2 separate regions of the Homo sapiens genome follow, and region 2 is linked to region 1. Evidence: promoter capture Hi-C in 16 types of primary human blood cells and fetal thymus (Javierre and others, 2016). All regions are on one chromosome and are shown on one strand. Each heading gives the region's core, a stretch centred on a gene start or on the middle of the fragment in contact. The rest is flanking DNA. Distances are from core to core; before and after follow the strand shown.

Region 1 (7,242 bases), core at 2,941-5,440:
TCTATCTGATAGGCAAGCAGAGATGTCAAATAGGTCATTGGATATATGAGGCTGCAGCTTAGAAGAAAGGCCTGGGTAACAAACATAAATTTGGGAGTGACAACAGTCTAGACAGATGTTCTTCAAAGCCATGCAGCTGGATGAGAGCCTCTGTGAAGATTTTAGATGGAGAAAAGTCCAGGGACTGAACCCCAGGTCACTGCAATGTTCAAAGGCTGGGGAGACAAATTTAGTAGAAAAAGAAGCTGGTCAGCTTTTTGTACAAATTTGAGTTTCAAATAAGTTAACATATATTAAATGATGAGAATCACATATTTACCACCTTTTGAAGGGCCCAACTCCTTCCAAGTCTGTCTTCTAAGAGATTCTGGCCTCTTCCTTTCTGAACATTTCAAAACACTTTTAAACAGAATAGCACTTTTTTCTTTTATGTTACACAGTGGTTTCTCCAGACTGCACAGTCATCCTGGTAGAAAACTAGTTAAGTACAACACAAATAGCACTCAGCTACGGCTTTTCCATAAAGTTCCATAATCCAATAACCACCTCATACCTAAAAGGCTATGGGTAACTTGAAACCAGAAGCCTAATTTGTGCCATCCGTTATTCTTTTGAGCTGTTCACTTCCCCATTGCACAGTAACTTTCTCCAGCCTCTTATTGATCTTGCGAGAAGCCTGAAAAGCCTCAAGACATCTGACAATCCACACCCCTTCCTCCCAGTGCAGTCCCCCTTCCTACCAACAAGAAGCACAACATTTTTACATTTCCACTTTTAAACTTTAGAGATTTCCACCCAGAGACTCATACTTTTAAAAAATAGAGAGGCCAGGAGCGGTGGCTCACGCCTGTAATCCCAGCACTTTGGGAGGCCGAGGAGGGCAGATCACGAGGTCAGAAGATCGAGACCATCCTGGCTAACACGGTGAAATCCCGTCTCTACTAAAAACACAAAAAGCTAGCCGGGCATGGTGGCGGGCGCCTGTAGTTCCAGCTACTCGGGAGGCTGAGGCAGGAGAATGGCATGAACCCAGGAGGCAGAGCTTGCAGTGAGCCAAGATCGCGCCACTGTACTCTAGCCTGGGCGACACAGCGAAACTCTGCCTCAAAAAAAAAAAAAAGTAAGAGAGAGGAAGTACTTCCAACTAGGTCAAAGTTGGCATCAGGAATGCAATCTCAAAGCAAAAATCAGCAGAAGTAAAGCTGAGTTTTGGGCCTGGGGCAAACTTACACCTGTAGGGCGACAAACTGGGTAGGCTTAGTTTCAGGTCCAGGAGTGCCTAACTCCAAGAGTGCCAAATTCCTAGAATGGCAATGCCATTAATTCATTAACAAATATTAGTATGCACCTATGATGTACCAAGGACTGTTCTGGGTCCAAGAGTCTACTGGTGAATACAACAGACAGCAATCCCTGCCCACAGGGTGTTTATGTTATGGTGGGTGAGGGAGTGGGAGGGCAGACAATAAGCAAGAACAATGTAATAAGGTAGGGAAAGGGCATATGGAATGTTCAGGGAAGGGATTACACGTTTAAATAGGGTGGTCAGGGCAAATTCCTAGCTGTGGTATTTCAAGTGCCTCAGGAAGGTGTCTTCTGTACCTCAACCCCACCATCACTACACCTCAGCCCCTTGAAGGAATGGCATGGTATGTCCGGTTACTGGCACAAATATTTGCCAACATCTTATATTTAAGACAAAGGGAGCTCCGAGATCCAGACCTTGCCCTTAGAGAACTTACAGCCTTCCAGGTGGAAAAACAACTAAGCAGTGTTAAGGGCTTTACTGAGGTGTAAACAAAGTGCTTTAGGACACAGGATAACTGGCAATTCTGCTTGGGGGAAGAAGTATGTGTTCAGTAAGGCCGTTCCAAAGGAGGTGACTTTAGAACTCAATCTTGAGGGATGGATAGGAATTAATGTCAGGGGAGGGGGAATGAGGGAGGAAAGTTAGCTTTTTAGGAAGAAAAAAAGGAACAGTTTGAGCAAAGTCCCAGAGATGGGAATAGGGAGGACATTTTCTTCCTATCCTTGTCTATGGTACTCCATCCATCCCATGACAAAACTAGCACACGATCACCCTCAGGCTCTCTGGTATGGCTGTCAGGAAATCCATATCACTTACCACTCCCTCATTTCTCCCCTAGCCAGCAGGAGAGGAAGAAGTTGAGTCAGGCACACATCCCTAGAATCCAGGGTTACCCTCCCCTAACTTCAGGACAATTACCACAGAGCTGAAAACCCGGGAGATTTCATTCATCTAATTACACTCAGGGATGTGTACTTATAGTGGTAACGTGGCAACTGGCCCATGTTGGAAATGAAGTGGGTAAGACATCAGTAAGGTAAGTAGTCCATAGTCTCGGCAGTGCATCTAAGGTGGAAGCAAGGAGAAAAACATATACTTGGGCTTGGAAGACAATTTTTTAATCACTTAGTCCTCATCCATGAGCTATTCAGTGTTCCCAACATCTAAGACAACAGAGGTGGTGTGACAGGATAGGAACACAAGCTCTGCCTCCGAGATTTTGAGGGCAAGGCACTTAACTTCTCAGTCTCTTTTTCATCATAATATGGTTATAACTGTAGCACCTACTGTATAGAGTTATTGTGAGGATTGCATTTTTATGTAAAGAACTTATCACAGTGTCCAGCTCAATGGAGCCTAACAACCAGAGCCTAACAAGCTCAGAGAGCCAGAATGCTACATATACTCACAGATCAATTACCCCAGAACAGGCCTCCAGCTCCATTTCACTGCTCTGACCAAGAGTGAGACACCTGAAATTGTGTTACCAGAAATGTTCATCCTCTGCCCAAAAAGGGCCTCACAAGCCAAGTTGGTGGTGCTTTTCTACTAGGGTGCTAAAAACCAAACAACCAAAAACGCAGAAAACTTCATCAAGGCCACGTCTCTGCATTAAACATTGTTCCCACAGCGACAAAAGTCTTAAGTCATTAATACCTCAATATTAATAGATTTATGAGAGGTGGGGGTGGGGAGCTTAAAGAGCAGAAAATAAGCCAGTTAAATATAGGAGGTCCAGGATGTACAGAAGACTCATTTTTGCCACAAATATACAAGGTCTAGGGTCAACCCTGCCAAGCACAGTACTCTGGAATTTTACGTCCTCTAATCCTGAAGAAGCAGGGTACTGGGGGAAGAAAAGCTTGATTAGAAAGTCACCACTTTTCAAGCCACCAGAATTCTAACCAAATGATTTCACCACCCCAAATCCCACCTCATTCAATGTTAAGGGTTGGAGGAACACCTTTTTCTGCCCCATTACAAACCAACACAGGAGACAGAAGCATTCTGTGCCCCTTCTGAGATCTCGGGGACCCTCCTCCAGTACCAGATCTCTCACAGCCTGCTTGAAGAGCGGCAATATAAAGCAGCTCCACAGCACACAGCCAGGTCCCCAGCCCCAAGCGCAGAGGGAGCCCACTGAGGCAGGACTCCAGCCAACCAGCCTCCAGCCTTTACCTGTGGCTGACTGGCCAACGCCAGAGAAGCCGCGATGTCGTAGGTCCGAAGAGAGTGCGGGTTAGCGACCCCGCTCGACGGCCGAGCGCTGTGAGAGGAACCCACGAAAAGGTGACTGGACGCCTTGGAGGGCGCAGTTCCCGCTAGGAGCTCGGCCCCGCCCCCGCCCCCAGGGCCAGCTCTCGGGAGGGGCACCAGCTCGGGCTGGCGGGAAAAAGCCCGGGCACTCCCCGCGAGGGGAGCCGAAGAGGAGAGGGGAGGCGGCTCCCAGAGGGGCACAGACCGCATTAGTGCTGGGTGGGTCAGGGAAGGGGCCAGAAGAAGCCCTGGAGAAAGAAAAGTGGCCGGGAGGGACCGCCCAAGCAGACGGGAGTCCAAGCCTGGGGATGCGGTCGGGAGAGGCGGACGGGGAGAGGGGAGACGCGGTCAGCTAGGGAGAAGGAAAAATTGGGGGACCAGAGAGCGGGTAGGGAAGACGCACGACCCCGAGATGGGGGTGGGGGCGCTTCAGCAGCGAAAAGGAGCTGGGGGTCCAGAAGGAGCACCGGACCGAGGGCGAGGGGCCGGCCGCTGGCTGTTGACCTACCTGTCACTTGCAACAGGTGCCTCCAGAGATCGAGAAGTCCCAGTGCCGGTTTCAAGGGAGGGTCTCCGGCTCCGGGAAGATCGCAACCCAGCTCCGGCAGCCGGCCCTTCTCACCCTCCCGGGAGGCGGAAAAAGCTGCAACTTTCCCTGGAGCGGGGAGGAGCTGGACTCTTAAAGGGGCCGCACAGCGCCCCGGGCTCCTTAGCAGGGGGCCACTCAGCCCAAAAGGGAGCTCTGGGACCCAAAGCCTTGAGACACAAGAGGAATGTCCTTCCAGGTTAGGAATGGGAGCCTGGGGACTGAGGATAGGGGTCTAACACTAGACGTGCCTCCTCACCCACTTACTTCCATCTGTTGGTCACTCTCTTAGACGGTGAAATCACCTGTCTCTTTCGTTCAGCTGAGTCAAAAGTTGTCAAATTGTCTCACACTTCTAAGAAGATAAAAGAGTATGAACTATCTAATTTGAGTAAATAAAATATAATACCATTCTGATCCTTTGACTTGTGGCCTTTTATGGCAAATAAATGTCTGTCTAAAATAGAAACGTTTTGGGCAAAAGCGTAGACTAAATTCATACATACACACTCAAGGACACAACTGGTTAAAATATCCAACTCACTAGTAATCAAAGAAAAGCAAATTAGAACAATAATGAGATTCTTTGGCAAAGATATTTTTTATTTTTTAATAACACTTAATGATGACAAAGTAGCCACCAAACAAGCTGTCTTAATTGCTGATAGCAGCATATGTTGGTTAAAAACCCTTTTAGAAAGCACGTGAGCAATATGTATCAATAGACTTGAAAATGTTTATACCTACCCAGTAATTGCAGATTCCTCTCCCTGCCTCTCCCATCCCTCTCCCCCTCATTTCACATCAGCAATTAAACATGCTCAAGTATCTACCATCTTAAAAAAAGAACCTCCCTACACAGGAGGTCCCTCTTCAGGTCCTCTTTATGGGCAAATGTATTGAAAATGTACTTCACAGGTGAAATTGCAATTTTTATTCCCTTACTTCTCATTCATTTCTTAGCTCTCAGCAGTCTGGCTTCCTTCCCCCACTGAAACTTCTCAATGAGATACACAAACAATGACCCTCAGTGTCAATAAATCCATAAATAAGTAAGGTATTTTTGGTCCTTATTTTGCTTGACTTCTCCCCTACATTTAACACCGTTAACCATTTCCTCGTCCTTGAAACTTTCTATGGCATCTATGACATTTTACTCTTTTGCTTTTCCTCCTACTCCTTTGCCCTCTCCTCAGTGACCTTTGTAGGCCACTCTTCTGCTATCTGACCTCTGAAAGTCAGACATTCTCAGGGCTAGGATACATATACTCCCTCCCCCAAATAATCTTTTTCACTCACTTGGCTTTAATTACCATATATATGGTCACAACTCTAATTCTATAACTCTACCCAGACTGCTTTATTGAGTTCTGTGTTCTTGACATCTCCACTTGAATGTCCTGCAGACACCTCAAATTCAACACATCCAAAGTTAAACCTACCATCTTTTCTCTTAAATTTGTTCCTCCTCCAGTATTTCTTATATCAGTAAATGACAACATGCCACTCAAGGCAATGGATTCACCATTCTAGATGCCATTAAGAACATTCATGATTCAACGGAGAAGGGCAAAATATCAACATTAACAGGAGTTTGGAAGAAGTTGATTCCAACCCTCATGGATGACTTTGAAGGGTTCAAGACTTCAGTGGAGGAAGTCACTACACATGTGGTAGAAATAGCAAGAGAACTAGAATTAGAAGTTGAACCCAGAGGCCAGGCACAGTGGCTCACGCCTGTAATCCTAGCACTTTGGGAGGCCGAGGCGGGCAGATCACGAGGTCAGAAGATCGAAACCATCCTGGCTAACACGGTGAAACCCCGTCTCTACTAAAAATACAAAAAGTTAGCCAGGCGTGGTGGCGGCCGCCTGTAGTCCCAGCTACTCGGGAGGCTGAGGCAGGAGAATGGCGTGAACCCAGGAGGTGAAGCTTGCAGTGAGCCGAGATCCTGCCACTGCACCCCAACCTGGGTGACAGAGCGAGACTCCATCTCAAAAAAAAAAAAAGTGGAACCCAGAGATGTGACTGAATTGCTGCAATCTCATGATAAAACTTGACTGACCAAGGAGTTGCTTCCTGTGTGAACCAAGAAAGTGATTTCTTGAGATGGAATCTACTCCTGGTGAAGATGATGTGAACTCTGTTGAAACAACAGCAAAGGATTTAGAGGCCAGGCACGGTGGCTCACGCCTGTAATCCCAGCACTTTGGGAGGCCGAGGAGGGCGGATCACGAGGTCAGGAGATTGAGACCATCCTGGCTAACACGGTGAAACTCCGTCTCTACTAAAAATACAAAACATTACCAGGCATGGTGGCCAGCACCTGTAGTCCCAGCTACTCGGGAGGCTGAGGCAGGAGAATATAGCGTGAACCCGGGAGGCGGAACTTGCAGTGAGCCGAGATCCCGCCACTGCACTCCAGCCTGGGTGACAGAGTGAGACTCCGTCGCAAAAAAAAAAAAAAAAGGATTTAGAATGTGACATAAACTTAGTTGATAAAGCAGCAGCAGGGTTTGAGAGGATTGACTCCAATTTTGGAAGAAGTTCTACTGTGTGTAAAATGGAATCAAACAGCATCGCATGCTACAGAGAAATCTTTTGTGAAAGGAAGAGTCAATCAATACAGCAATCTTCATTGTTGTCTTATTTTAAGAAATTGCTACAGCCATCCCAGCCTTCAGGAACCATCACCCTGATCAGGCAGCAGCCATCAACATCAAGGCGAGACCTCCCACCAGCAAAAAGATTACAACTCACTGAAGGCTCACAGGATCATTTGCATTTTTTAACAATAAAGTTTTTCTTTTTTTGAGACAAGGTTTCGCTCTGTCACCACCCTGGAGGGCGGTGGCACAATTGTAGCTCACTGTAGACTCTATCTCCTGGGCTCGAGCCATACTCCCACCTCAGCCTCCGAGTTGCTGGGACTATAGGCACACACCACCATGTCCAGCTATATATTTTTAAAAGTATTTTATTAGAGACAGGCCTCACTATGTTGCCCAGGCTGGTCTCTAACTCCTGAGCTTAAGTGATCCTCCTGCCTTGGCCTCCCAAAAGTGCTGGGATTACAGGCATGAGCCACCGT
Region 2 (7,395 bases), core at 1,584-4,083, 41 kb after region 1:
CTTTTGTTGCCATTGCTTTTGGTGTTTTAGTCATGAAGTTTTTGCCCATGCCTATGTCCTGAATGGTATTGCCTAGGTTTTCTTCTAGGGTTTTTATGGTTTTGGGTTTTAAATTTAAGTCTTTCATCCACCTTGAGTTAATTTTTGTATAAGGTGTAAGGAAGGGGTCCAGTTTGTTTTCAGCATATGGCTAGCCAGTTTTCCCAGCACCATTTATTAAATAGGGAATCATTTCCCCATTGCTTGTTTTTGTCAGGTTTGTCAAAATCAGATGGTTGTAGATGTGTGGTGTTACTTCTGGGGCCTCTGTTCTGTTCCATTGGTCTATATATCTATTTTGGTACCACTACCATGCTGTTTTGGTTACTGTACCCTTGTATTATAGTTTGAAGTCAGGCAGTGTGATGCCTCCAGCTTTGTTCTTTTTGCTTGTCTTTGCTATACGGGCTCTTTTTTGGTTCCATATGAAATTTAAAGTAATTTTTTCTAATTCTGCGAAGAAAGTCAATGGTAGCTTGATGAGAATATCATTGAATGTATAAATTACTTTGGGCAGTGTGGCCATTTTTACGATATTTATTCTTCCTACCCATGACCATGGAATGTTTTTCCATTTGTTTGTGTCCTCCCTTATTTCCTTGAGCAGTGGTTTGTAGTTCTCCTTGAAGAGGTCCTTCATGTCCCCTGTAAGTTGTATTCCTAGCTATTTTATTCTCTTTGTAGCAATTGTGAATGGGAATTCACTCATGATTTGGCTCTCTGCTTGTCTATTATTGGTGTTTAGGAATGCTTGTGATCTTTGCACATCAATTTTGTATCTTGAGAATTTGCTGAAGTTGCTTATTAGCTTAAGGAGTTTTGGGGCTGAGATTATGGGGTTTTCTAAGTACACAACCATGTCATCTGCAAATAGAGACAATTTGACTTCCTCTCTTCCTATTTGAATATCCTTTATTTCTCTCTCTTGCCTGATTGCCCTGGCCAGAACGTCAAATACTACGTTGAATAGGAGTGGTGAGAGAGGGCATCCTTGTCTTCTGCCGGTTTTTAAAGGGAATGCTTCCAGCTGTTGCCCATTCAGTATGTTATTGGCTATGGGTTTGTCATAAATAGCTCTTATTATTTTGAGATATTTTATATATTATTTGAGATATTTTGAATCCTACTGAATTCATTTATCGGTTCTAAGAGTGTTTTGGACGAGTCTTTGGGGTTTTCAAAATATAAGATCATGTTATCTGCAAACAGGGACAATTTGACTTCCTCCTTTCCAATTTGGATGCCCTTTATTTCTTTCTCCTGCCTAATTGCTCTGGCTAAGACTTCCAGCACTATGTTGAATAAAAGTGGTGAAACTAGGCTTCCTTGTCTTTGTCCAGATCTTAAAAAAAAATGCTTTCAACTTTTCCTTATTCAGTTTGATGTTAGCTGTGGGTTCATCATATATGGTCTTTATTGTTTTGAGGTATGTTTTTCTCTATACCTAATTTGTTGATAGTTTTTACCATGAAGAGATGTTGAATTTTATTAAATGTTTTTCTGCATGTGTTGAGATGATTACATGGTTTTTGTCCTTCATTCTGTTGATATGATATATCACATTTATTGATTTGCATATGTTCAACCAGCCTTCCATTCCTGGGATAAATTCTGCTTGATCATGTTGTATAATCTTTTTGATGTGCTGTGGAATGTGGTTTACTAACATTTTGTTGAGCATTTCTCATCTATGTTCATCAGGGCTATTTGCCTGTAGTTTTCTTTTTTTGTTGTTGTGTCCTTGTCTAGTTTTGGTATCAGAGTAATGCTGGCTCTGTAGAATGAGTAGAAAGAATTCCTTCCTCTTCCATTGTTTGGAATAGTTTGAGGATAAATTATGTTTGTTCTTCTTTAAAACTTTGGTATAACTCAGCAGTGAAGCCATCCAGTCCTAGACTTTTCTTTATTGGGAGACTTTGTATTACTGATTCAGTCTAATTACTTGTTATCAGCCTGTTCATGTTTTCTATTTTTTTCAATCTTGGTGGGTTATATGTGACCAGGAATTAATCCATTTTCTCTAGGTTTTCCAATTTGTTAGTGTATTGTTGTTCATAATATTCTCTAATGATAATTCATATTTCTGTTTTATCACTTGTAATGTCTTCTTTTTTATTTCTGATTTTATTTCTTTGGGTCTTCTCTTTTTCTTTCTTAGTTTAACTAGTAGTTTTTTTTTTAATTTTATCTTTTCATAAAACCAACCTTTTGTTTTCTTGATCTTTTGTATTGTTTTTCTAGTCTCTATTTTGTTTATTTCTGCTCTGACATTTCTTATTCATTTCCTTCTACTAATTTTGGGTTTGGCTTGTTCTTGTTTTTCTAGTTCCCTGAAGTGCATCATTAGGTTGTTTATTTGAAATCTTCTACTTCTTTGACATAGGCATTTATTACTACAAACTTCCTTCTTAGTACTGCTTTTTCTGTATCCCATAGGTTTGGTATGGTGGGTTTCCATTTTCATTTCTTTCAAGAAATTTTAAAAATTTTCTTCTTAATTTCTCCCTTTAGCCATTGGTTGTCCAAAGGCATGTTTAATTTCCATGTATTTGTACAGTTTCCAAAGTTCCTCTTGTTATTGATTCCTAGTTTTATTCTACTATGGTCAGAAAGGATAATTGATATGATTTCAATGTTTTAAATTTTTTGAGACTTGTTTTATGACCTAGCCCATATGGTCCAACCTGAAGAATATTCTATGTGCTGATGACAAGAATGTGTATTTTGAAATTGTTTGATGAAATGCTCTGTAAATGTCAGTTAGGTCCACCTGGTCTAGAGTGTAGTTTAGCTCTGATTTTTTTGCTGATGTTTCTGTCTGGACAATCTGTCCATTGCTGAAAGTGGTCTGTTAAAAGTCCGCTAGTATTATTATATTGTAGTCTATCTCTACCTTTAGATCCATCAATATTTGCTATACATATTTGGGTGTTCAGGTGTTAGGTGCATATATATTTACAATTGTTATATACTCTTGCTGAATTGACCTATTTATCTTCATACGATGACTTTGTCTCTTTTTGCTGTTTTTGACTTAAAGTCTGTTTTATCTGATATAAATATAGCTACTCCTGCTCTCTTTTAATTTACATTTGCAGGAAGTATCCTCTTTTCATCCCTTCACTTTCAGTCTATGTGTGTCCTTACATATGAGGTGAGCCTCTTGTTGGACACATATATACAGGTCTTGTTTTTTTATCATCCAGTCATTGTATGTCTTTTAATTGAAGAATTTAATTCGTATACATTCAAGATTATTATTGATAGGTATGAACTTACTCTTGCCATTTTGTTCATTGTTTTCTAGAGGTTTTTTTTTTCAACTTTTTAGAGTCGGGGTACATGTACATATTTGTTACAAATGTATATTGCATGATGCTGAGGTTTGGGGTATGACTGAACCTATCACCCAGGTAGTGAGCATAGTACCCAATAGGTAGTTTTTCAGCCCTTTCCCCTCCTCCACCTGCTAGTAGTCACTAGTTTTGTTGCCATCTTTATGACCATGAGTAACTGATGTTTAGCTCCCGCTTGTAAGTGAGAACATGCAGTGTACGGTTTTCTGTTTCTGCATTAGTTCCCTTAGGATAATGGCCTCCAGCTGCATCCACGTTGCTGCAAAGGACATGATTTCATTTTTCCTTATGGCTGCATAGTATTCCATGGTGTCTGCATACCACATTTTCTTTATCCAGTCCACTGTTGATGGGTACCTGGGTTGATTCCATGTTTTTGCTATTATGAATAGCACTGTGATGAACATATGGATGCACGTGTCATCTTGGTAGAACAATTTATTTTTGTTTGGGTGTATACCGAGTAATGGGATTGCTGGGTCGAATGGTAGTTCAACTCTTAGTTCTTTGAGAAATCTCCAAACTGCTCTCCACAGTGTCTGGACTAATTTTTACATTTCCACCAGCCATATACAGGTGTCCCCTTTTTGCTGCAGCCTCACCAATATCTGTTTTTGTCTTCTACTTTTTAACAAAAGCCATTCTTACTGGTGTGAGATGGTATTTCCTTGTGGTTTTGACTTGCATTTCTCTGATGATTAGAGATTATGAGCATTTTTCATGTTTGTGGGTCACTTGTATGTCTTCTTTTGAGAAGTGTCTGTTCATGTCCTTTGCCCACTTTTCAATGAGGTTATTTGCTTTTTGCTTGTTGATTTAAGTTCCCTATAGATTCTGGATATTTCTAGTTGTTTTATAGATCTTTTGCTCCCTTCCTTTTCCCTTGCTTTCTTTCTTAGTTGTTTGATGGCTTTCTGTAGTGGTATACCTTGGGTCTTTTCTTTTTCTCTTTTGTATTTGTATTGTAGGCTTTTGCTTTGTGGTTACCCTGAGGTTTACACAAAACATCTTATACAGCCAGGCACAGTGGTGCATGCCTGTAATTCTAGCTACTTGGGAGGCTGAGACAGGAGGATCACTTGACCCCAGGAGTTCAAGGCTATAGTACACCATGATCATGCCTCTGAATAGCCACTGCACTCCAGCCTGGGCAACATAGTAAGACCCCATCTCTTAAAAATTTTTTTTTAATTAGCTGGCCATCAAATGCCCATCAATCAACAAGTGGATAAAGAAATTGTGGTGTGTGTGTATATATATATATGTATACACAATATATATATACACATATATATACATGTATATGATGGAATACTACTCAGCCATAAAAAGGAATGAACTAATAGCATTCACAGCAACCTGGATGGGATTGCAGACTATTATTCTAAGTGAAGCAACTCAACAATGGAAAACCAAACATCATATGTTCTTACTTATAAGTGGGAGCTAAGCTATGAGGATGCAAAGGCAGAAGAATGATACAATGGACTTTGGGGACTCAGGGGAAAAGGGTGAGAAGGGGGTGAGGGATAAAAGGCTACAATTGGGTTCAGTGTATACTGCTCAGGTAAAATGGGTACACCAAAATCTCACAAATCACCACTAAAGAACTTACTCATGTAACCAAATAGCACCTGTTCCCCAAAAACCTATGGAAATGAAAAATATAAAATTTTTAAAGTTAAAAATAAATAAATAAAATAAAAATTAGCTGGGCATGATGGCACACACCTGTGGTCCCAGCTACTTGAAAGGCTGAAGTGGGAGGATCACTTGAGCCCAGGAGTTCAAGCCAGCAGTGAGCCATGATCATGCCGCTGCACTCCAGCCTGGGTGATAAAGCAAGACCCAGTCTCAAAAATTAAATTAAATTAAAATTTAAAAAATAAAAACATCTTATACTCATAACAGATTAATTTATCCAATAATAACTTAATTTTGATTGCATACACAATACCTCCACTTTTACTCCACCTCCTCCCATGTTTTGTTTTTGATGTTACACTTTTATATCATCTTATAACATGTATCCCTTAGCAAATTATTGTAGCTTTAGTTGTTTTTAATGGTTTTCCCTTTTGAACTTTATACTAGAAATATAATTGATTTACCTACTGCTGTTACAGTATTAGAGGGTTTTGTATTTGTCAATGTACTTACTTTTACCAGTGAGTTTTATACTTTCATATGATTTAGTTACTAATTAGCATCCTCTTCCTTCAGGTGAAGAAGTTCATTTAGTTTTTGTAATGCAGGTCTAATGGTAATAAAGTCTCCCAACTTTTGTTTTTCTGAGAAAGTCTTAATCACCCCTTCATTTTTTGAAAGACAGTGTTGCTGCGTATAGTTTTCTTGATTGGTGGTCTTTTTCTTTCAGGGTTTTGTCTATATCATCCCACTCTCTTATAGCTTGCAAGGTTTCTGCTGAGAAGTCTATTTATATTCTTATGGAGGTTCCCCTATGATAATTTGCTTTTCCCTTGCTGCTTTCAATACTCTCTCAGTCTTTTAACTTTTAACAATTTGACTATGATGTGTCCTGGTGTGGATCTCCTTAGGTTCATCTTATTTGGTGTGCTATGGACTTCCTGGATCTGGCTTTCCAATTTCTTCCTGGACTTGGGAAGTTTTCTACCATTATTTCTTTGTATATGTTTTCTCTCCCTTTCTCTCTTTTTTCTACTTCTGGCTCTGACTCTGGCTATCAATTATGTGTAAGTTATTTTGCTTGATGGTATCCCATACGTCACTTAAGTTATCTTCACTCTTTGTCATTTTTTTCTTTTTGTTCCTCAGATTGAATGATTTCCAGTGTTCCGTCTCCAAGTTCACTGATTCTTTTGACTGCTTGATCTATTCTGTTGTTGAATCCCACTACTGAATTTTTCAGTTCAGTTATAATATTCTTCTGATCTATGATTTCCATTTGGTTCTTTGTAATACTTTCTATCTCTTTAAGTTATCATCTTGTTCTTCCATTGCTGCCCTGACCCCTGTTAGCATCTTTATGACCACTATTCTGAATTCCCTGTTGGGTAAATTATGAAACTCCACTACCTTTGGGTCAGTTTCTGGAGATTTATCTTGTTCTTTTATTTGGAATATAATCCTGTTTCTTCATTTTTCTTGATTCTTTGTGTTGGTTTCTGCACATTAGATAAAATATCTACTTCTCTCCATCTTGTTTGACTAGCCTTGTATAGAAGAAGGTTTTCACCAATCCATGTGGCCAGAGGTTTTAAGCTGCCTCTCTAATCTTTGTGTTTGTCCAGACTGCCATCTCTGTTTTGGATGGATTTCAGGAGCTTAGAATGTGTCACATCTTGTCAGTACCTTGAGACCAGCAAGGTTCTTTAAATATAGCTGGTAAGGTTGGGGTATTGGGCTAGTAGTGGGATTGCTGGATCAAATGGTAGTTCTACTTTTAGTTCTTTAAGGAATCTCCACACTGTTTTCCATAGCAGCTGTACTAGTTTACATTCCCACCAGCAGTGTAGAAGCATTCCCTGATCACCGCATCCATGCGAACATCTACTGTTTATTGATGTTTTGATTATGGCCATTCTTGAAGGACTAAGGTGGTATCACATTGTGGTTTTGATTTACATTTCCCTGATTATTAGTGATGTTGAGCATTTTTTCATATGTTTGTTGGCCATTTGTATATCTTCTTTTGAGGCTTGTCTATTCATCTCTTTAGTCCACTTTTTGATGGGATCGTTATTTTTTTCTTATTGATTTGTTTGAGTTGGTTGTAGATTCTGGATATTAGTCCTTTGTCAGATGTATAGATTGTAAAGCTTTTCTCCCACTCTGTGGGTTGTCTTTTTACTCTGCTGACTGTTCCTTTTGTTGTGTAAAAGCTCTTTAGTTTAATTAGGTCCCAGCTATTAATTTTTGTTGTTGCACTTGCTTTTGGGTTCTTGGTCATGAAGTCCTCGCCTAAGCCAATGTATAGAAGGGTTTTTCCAATGTTACCTTCTAGAATTTTTATAGTTTC

The links. The method cuts DNA at HindIII sites, captures the fragments that hold promoters and counts their contacts. A CHiCAGO score of 5 or more calls a contact.
Region 2: a fragment that was not itself captured here is called in contact with the fragment with the promoter of SYTL4 in region 1 in 1 of 17 cell types (megakaryocytes); the score reaches 9.1 in megakaryocytes.

The regions. Positions count from the first base shown.
Region 1 is chrX:100,727,931-100,735,172 of GRCh38, forward strand. It overlaps SYTL4 (synaptotagmin like 4), which reads right to left and starts at 4,191. Exons shown (of 20, transcript NM_001370165.1): 1 at 4,074-4,191; 2 at 3,488-3,575. The HindIII fragment of the contact is 2,913 bases long and covers 3,169-6,081 here.
Region 2 is chrX:100,770,327-100,777,721 of GRCh38, forward strand. No RefSeq gene overlaps it. Among named protein-coding and RNA genes, the nearest start is that of SYTL4, 42 kb to the left of the region's middle. The HindIII fragment of the contact is 8,719 bases long and covers 1-7,193 here.